Regions from separate parts of the Homo sapiens genome. Here region 2 is linked to region 1. Evidence: promoter capture Hi-C in 16 types of primary human blood cells and fetal thymus (Javierre and others, 2016). All regions are on one chromosome and are shown on one strand. The core of a region is centred on a gene start or on the middle of the fragment in contact, and the rest is flanking DNA. Distances in the headings are between cores, read along the strand shown. Region 1 holds the start of GATM (glycine amidinotransferase). Region 2 has its middle 47 kb from the start of SLC28A2-AS1.

Region 1 (2,738 bases), core at 153-2,652:
CTGTTTTGCAGATGGGTCAGTCCTCCTCTCAGAAAACCATAGACAGCTGCTCTAAAACTTCCCGCCAGTCTCAGCTGGGGACGGAACCTCCTTTTCCCTTAAGTATCAAAGGTTACCAATATTAGGCTTTTTATTTATTTTTTTTTACAAATGAAAAGTTGGGAACATTTGTAAAGGACCTTATCTTTCAGAATAACCAGCTTCAAATCAAATTTTTTTCATCTTTGACATACACTTCGCATTCTTTGGCACTTCAATTCTGAGAGTGAGCAACTGCCATCTGCTCCATTTTACAGATGGTCCACAGTACCCTAGCCAAGGTCAGGATTAGCTCAGGCGTAAATTCAAACAAATAAGAAGGAGATCTAAAAACTTCAAAAGCCTTTTAAAAATGCATGGCCTATAAAATCTAGAGCAGGGAGGGTCCCTCAACCCCTGAGCAAACCTCAACCCCCCAAATCTCTATCCTGCTCTGTTAAAAGCCTTAGGAAGTGGGCAGGAGGAGAACTCGGGTGGAGGCAGAAGAAAGACGGAGAATGACAGCTGTTCAGGAACCAGTTGCTGGGAGGAAGCCAGAATGTCGGAGCGATTCCAGTACTAGAAGCATGGGAGGGTCTGCTGCCAGGGCAGCCGAGGGCGGGGAGCGCAGAAACTCTGCTTACAGGCTGCACTCGCCCCGACTCCTCTCCAGACGTGGGATCCCATGTTATACTTGGAGTGAATCTGGTCGCTCGCTCCCCGTCCCCGATTCCCACTTTGCTTGCCTCTTCTCCCCATCCATCTACCCCACACGCATTTTCCAGAAATCTCCCCAACTCGACGCCCACTCAGGCTACTGAACCCCAATAACGCCACCCTTTTACTAAGAGGAGCCTCCGTCGTCCCAACCCCTTGCTCCGAGCGGGAAGCTTGGTGCAGCGCACCAAGGTCCGGTAGAGGGGGGCGGCGCCCCCTGCGCCGTGGGCCAGCAGGCCGCGGACGCGCAGACAGCAAGTGGACCCCAAGGGCTGGAGCCGCAACGCAAGTTCCCCCTGACTGGGGGACGCCGCCCAGCTCCTGGAGCCTGCGAAGGCTCTTGAAGCTGAGCTTCCCAGGGATACCAGAAGGGACACTCTCGTGCAATTCCGGCTAGGGAAAGCGAGGGAAGGTGGCGGCTCCGGGCAGGGAGCGAGCGAGTGCTCCACGCCGCCCGCAGGATCGAGTGAGTCACGCGGCCGCCAGACGAGGCCGGTGGCGCACGCACCCGAGATCCGATGTAGTGCACCGCCTCGGCGCCGCGGCTCCCGCCGCGCAGACACCGCACCCGCAGCATCGCCCTGGCCCGGCTGGTCCACGCGCGGAATGTTCCTGGCCTCTGGGCCGCGTCGGTCCAAGCCTTCCCGAGAGCGCGCCCGGAGCGGGGTGGGCGGGCGCGCGGGGCCCGAGGCCTTTTGTAGCCGCGCTCCGCCCCGGCCGCCCCCCGCGGCCCCATTGGCTGCCGGGAACAGGTGGTGGGGCCGGCGTAGCGCCCCGAATTAGGAACTGTCGGGAAGCGCCGCGGCCGCTGGCTCGAGCCTCCGATGCTTGCCCTTTTTTAGCCAGCGGGGCCACTGACGGCTTCTGTTGCACGTCCGGACCCGGACCCAGACCCGAGCGTCGCAAGAAGGCCCGTTGGAGTCTCGCGCAACTGGGCAGGACGCGACTTCTGACGAAGTGACAATGGTCTATGCATATATTAAGTGAATATTTGAGAATTTAAATATGCAAAGCGTGAGTACAGTGTTACCCTTAAATTCACATATGCGCACTGAACCAGTCACCTCATTTTTCGGTAAACGAAACCACCTAAAGATTAGGTGGTTTCTTGGTGCAACATCGGGTTTGAGACTGCAGAAAACTAAGTCTGGAAATTGGGCCATTTGTTCCCCGGGGAGGCAGTGCTTTCCTTCCAGTACCCCGTCGGTTGTTATTTGGAACACCTGGCATTTCACATGGTCTTTGGCCATATGCCCCTGGCTTGAGAAACTCCGTCATGAAAATCGACAAGTGTGGGTCAGAAATAAGGGAGGACGACAGTTTCGTTCCTTCCATTTCATGTTTTAAAATTTTTGTTTCAACTTGATCAGGATTCTTTTTTAGAAAAGTATTTTCCCTCACAGTGCAGTCTTAATTGCTGTGGATTTGTACAGAGCTAGAGAACTCAGGTTAACATTTATGCTCCTAGCAGGAGGGGGGGCAAGAGATTTGAGTATTTCATTTTTGTACTTATAGAATTATAACTATTCATTTTTGATGAGCTGTCTTTTCAATTTTGGTATCTCAAGCTTGTTTTCCAGAGTTCATGGATGGAAAGCACCAGACGAGCAGATGGCATGGTGGAAAGAGCCTCCGAGAGGGAATTAGGATAACTGAGTTCCAGTCCTGAATCACTTATAGACTACTATATGTCTTCCTGAATTGCAGTCTTCTTATCTGCAAAGTGAGAACAATAGAATTTACTGTCCCTAGCACATGGGGGGTTGCTGAGAGGCCAAAATGAGAGATTGTACATGCAGAACTTGATGCGTGGCATTAGAGCTGTATGAGGCCGGGTGCAGTGGCTCACGCCTGTAATCCCAGCAATTGGGAAGGCCGAGGCAGGCGGATTGCCTGAGGTCAGGAGTTTGAGACTATCCTGGTCAACATGATGAAACCCTGTCTACTAAAAATACAAAAACTAGGTCGGGCGCGGTGGCTCATGCTTGTAATCCCAGCACTTT
Region 2 (2,738 bases), core at 166-2,665, 52 kb before region 1:
AGGGTCATTTTACCATAAGTAGGTTGTCAAGCAACAAAAGTGACATAGTTTCCTTTCTCCTTCTCCTTCTCCTACTACAACTGACCCTTGAACAACACAGGTTTGAACTGCATGGGTCCACTTATATATGAACTTTTTTCTGCCTTTGCCACCCCTGAGACAGCAAGACTAACCCCTTCTCTCCCTCTTCTTCCTCAGTCTACTGAACACGAAGATGATGAGGTGAAGACCTTTATAATGATCTACTTCCGCTTAATAAAGATATATTTTCTCTTCCTTATGATTTTAATAATGTTTTTCTTTTTTCTAGCTTTCCTCATTGTATAAATATAGTATATAATACATATAACATATAAAATATGCTAATCAACGGTTTATGTTATTGGTAAAGCTTCTCATCAAGTAGTTAAGTTCCTGGGAAGTAAAACATTATACTTAGATTTTCAACTGTGTTGGGAGGTCAGCACCTCTAACCCCCAGCTTGTTCAAGGGGGAACTGTATTACTATGATCTATTTTTTACCCATAGAACATGTCTGACACCAAATATGTGGTGTTTTTTTTTTCCCATGCCAACCTCAAATTCTCCTTCTCTCCAGAAACCAACTGGGTATCCAATAATTCAATTGAATTCAATTCTGACACTAGTTACCTGGTGTTAGTATCAGATGGCACAGTTGAAAGGGCCCAGTCCCACAAGACTGCCCACAAGACTTCAGATGCCAATCACAAGCTGAGCCTCCCATACTTCTGTCTTAATGGCTATAAACTAGGGGTTTCCACAACCCTCTCCTCAGGTTCAATAATTTGCTAGAATGGCTTGTAAAACTCAGGAAATCATTATACTGACATTTAGCAGTTTATTTATAAATGATATTATAAAGGCTACAGATGAACAGGCAGAGGACAAGGTGTGAAACGGGAGATGTGCAGAGCTCCAGTGCCCTCCCTGGGCACCCCACCCTCTCGGTGTAACTGTAGCAGATCCATTGTCCCATGTGCACAGCAAGTCAGTAGGCAGAGACACCAGGGTGCAGCAGAGAAAGAGGTTTAATTGTAGGGTCTCCGAACTAGGAGATGGGAGGAAACCTCAACTCCATCTCCCAAGCAATCTGGGGCTAGAGATTTTGTGGGCTTTTTTTTTTTTTTTGCGATGGAGTTTTGCTTGTGTCGCCCAGGCTGGAGTGCAATGGTGCCATCTCGGCTCATTGCCACCTCTGCCTCCCAGGTTCAAGCAATTCTCCCGCCTCAGCCTCCAGAGTAGCTGGGATTACAGACTCCTGCCACCATGCCCAGCTAATTTTTGTATTTTTAGTAGAGACAGGGGTTTCACCATGTTGGCCAGGCTGGTCTTGAACTCCTAACTTCAGGTGATCCACTCACCTGGACCTCCCAAAGTTTACAGGCGTGAGCCACCGTGCCCGGCCTGGGGCTAGAGATTTTAAGGGTTTTGGAGTGGGCTGAAGTGTGAAGATCATTGATTGGTTGAAGAGTGCAGGGTAAAGTCATGGGACAGAAAGATGAAGAAGCTGTATTCTCATGCTGATTCCATTTCTCTGTGGGGGTCTTCAAACTGGTTGGTTTCAGCTGTTTCACTGGAGTTTGGGATCTGAAAACATCTTAGGCAACCTTCAAACAAAAGCCATATGATTCTAACGGCGGTGATCCTGTCTATAGGAATAATGGGGGTGCAAATGGGCAGTATCTAGTGCTATTGACTTTCAGCAACAAGGAAATGAGCCAAAGTGCAGCCTGATTAAGGCTTAATTATAACGAAATTTCTGCCCAGAACTCAGCATGAAATCCTTGTCAACCCTGTGGGGATGGCTTCATCAGCCGCTCGATGTGTTTTCCAACTCAGAAGCTCTCTGAAGCCCTTTGTTTAGGGTTTTTATGGAGGTTCTATTACATAGGCGTGATTGCTTAAATCATGGGCCATTGGTGATTTACTCAATCCAGCTTTTCTCTCCCTCCCTCGGGGTGAGTAGGGCTGAAAGTTCCAATCCTCTATAATCACATGTTTGGTTCCTCTGGCAACCAGTGCCCATCCTGAAGCTATCTATGGGCTTCCAGCCACCAGTCATCTAATTAACATAATTCATGTACACTCGAAAAGAGCTTGTTGAAAATAACAAAAGATGCTCCTGTCACCTCGATTGCTCAGAAAATTCAAAGAGTTTTTAGAAGCTCTGCGCCTGGAACCAGGGATAAAAACCAGCGATTTTAACAAAAGACGCTCCTGTCACTCCTATCACTCGGGAAGTTACCAGAATTTTAGAATCTCTGTACCAGAAACTGGGGGCCTGAAGACCCAATATGTATTTCTTACTATATCACAGTATCACAGTCCTTATTAGGTTGCCAGTGGAAAAGATGTAGAAAGTTAACCAAAAGTCAAATTTTCATGTAGGAGAGAAAAGGTTTTGCTAACACTTCACCCACAAGCTTCTTTATCAACAAAGTAACTCATCATTGGAACCTGTATGCTCTATTTATATTTTCAGTATACATTAGTTGGCCAAAATTTAGGTATAAAAGTAGGGATAGCAACAAAAAAAGAAATCATTTCTTCACTTCTTTTTTTTTTTTTTTTTTTTTTGAGATGGAGTCTCACTCTGTTGCCCAGGCTGGGGTGCAGTGGTGCAATCTCGGCTCACTGCAACCTCCGCCTCCTGGGTTCAAGCAATTCTCCTGCCTCAGCCTCCCAAGTAGCTGATTACAGGCATGCACCACCACGCC

Evidence for each region. The method cuts DNA at HindIII sites, captures the fragments that hold promoters and counts their contacts. A CHiCAGO score of 5 or more calls a contact.
Region 2: a contact is called between a fragment that was not itself captured here and the fragment with the promoter of GATM in region 1, in 2 of 17 cell types (M2 macrophages and M1 macrophages). The highest score is 5.8, in M2 macrophages.

What each region holds. Positions count from the first base shown.
Region 1 is chr15:45,377,142-45,379,879 of GRCh38, forward strand. It overlaps GATM (glycine amidinotransferase), which reads right to left and starts at 1,403. Exons shown (of 9, transcript NM_001482.3): 1 at 1,244-1,403. The coding sequence starts at 1,312. RefSeq lists a silencer at 1,202-1,531 and an enhancer at 1,672-1,751. The HindIII fragment of the contact is 1,395 bases long and covers 907-2,301 here.
Region 2 is chr15:45,324,970-45,327,707 of GRCh38, forward strand. No RefSeq gene overlaps it. Among named protein-coding and RNA genes, the nearest start is that of SLC28A2-AS1, 47 kb to the left of the region's middle. RefSeq lists an enhancer at 1,293-2,223. The HindIII fragment of the contact is 2,053 bases long and covers 390-2,442 here.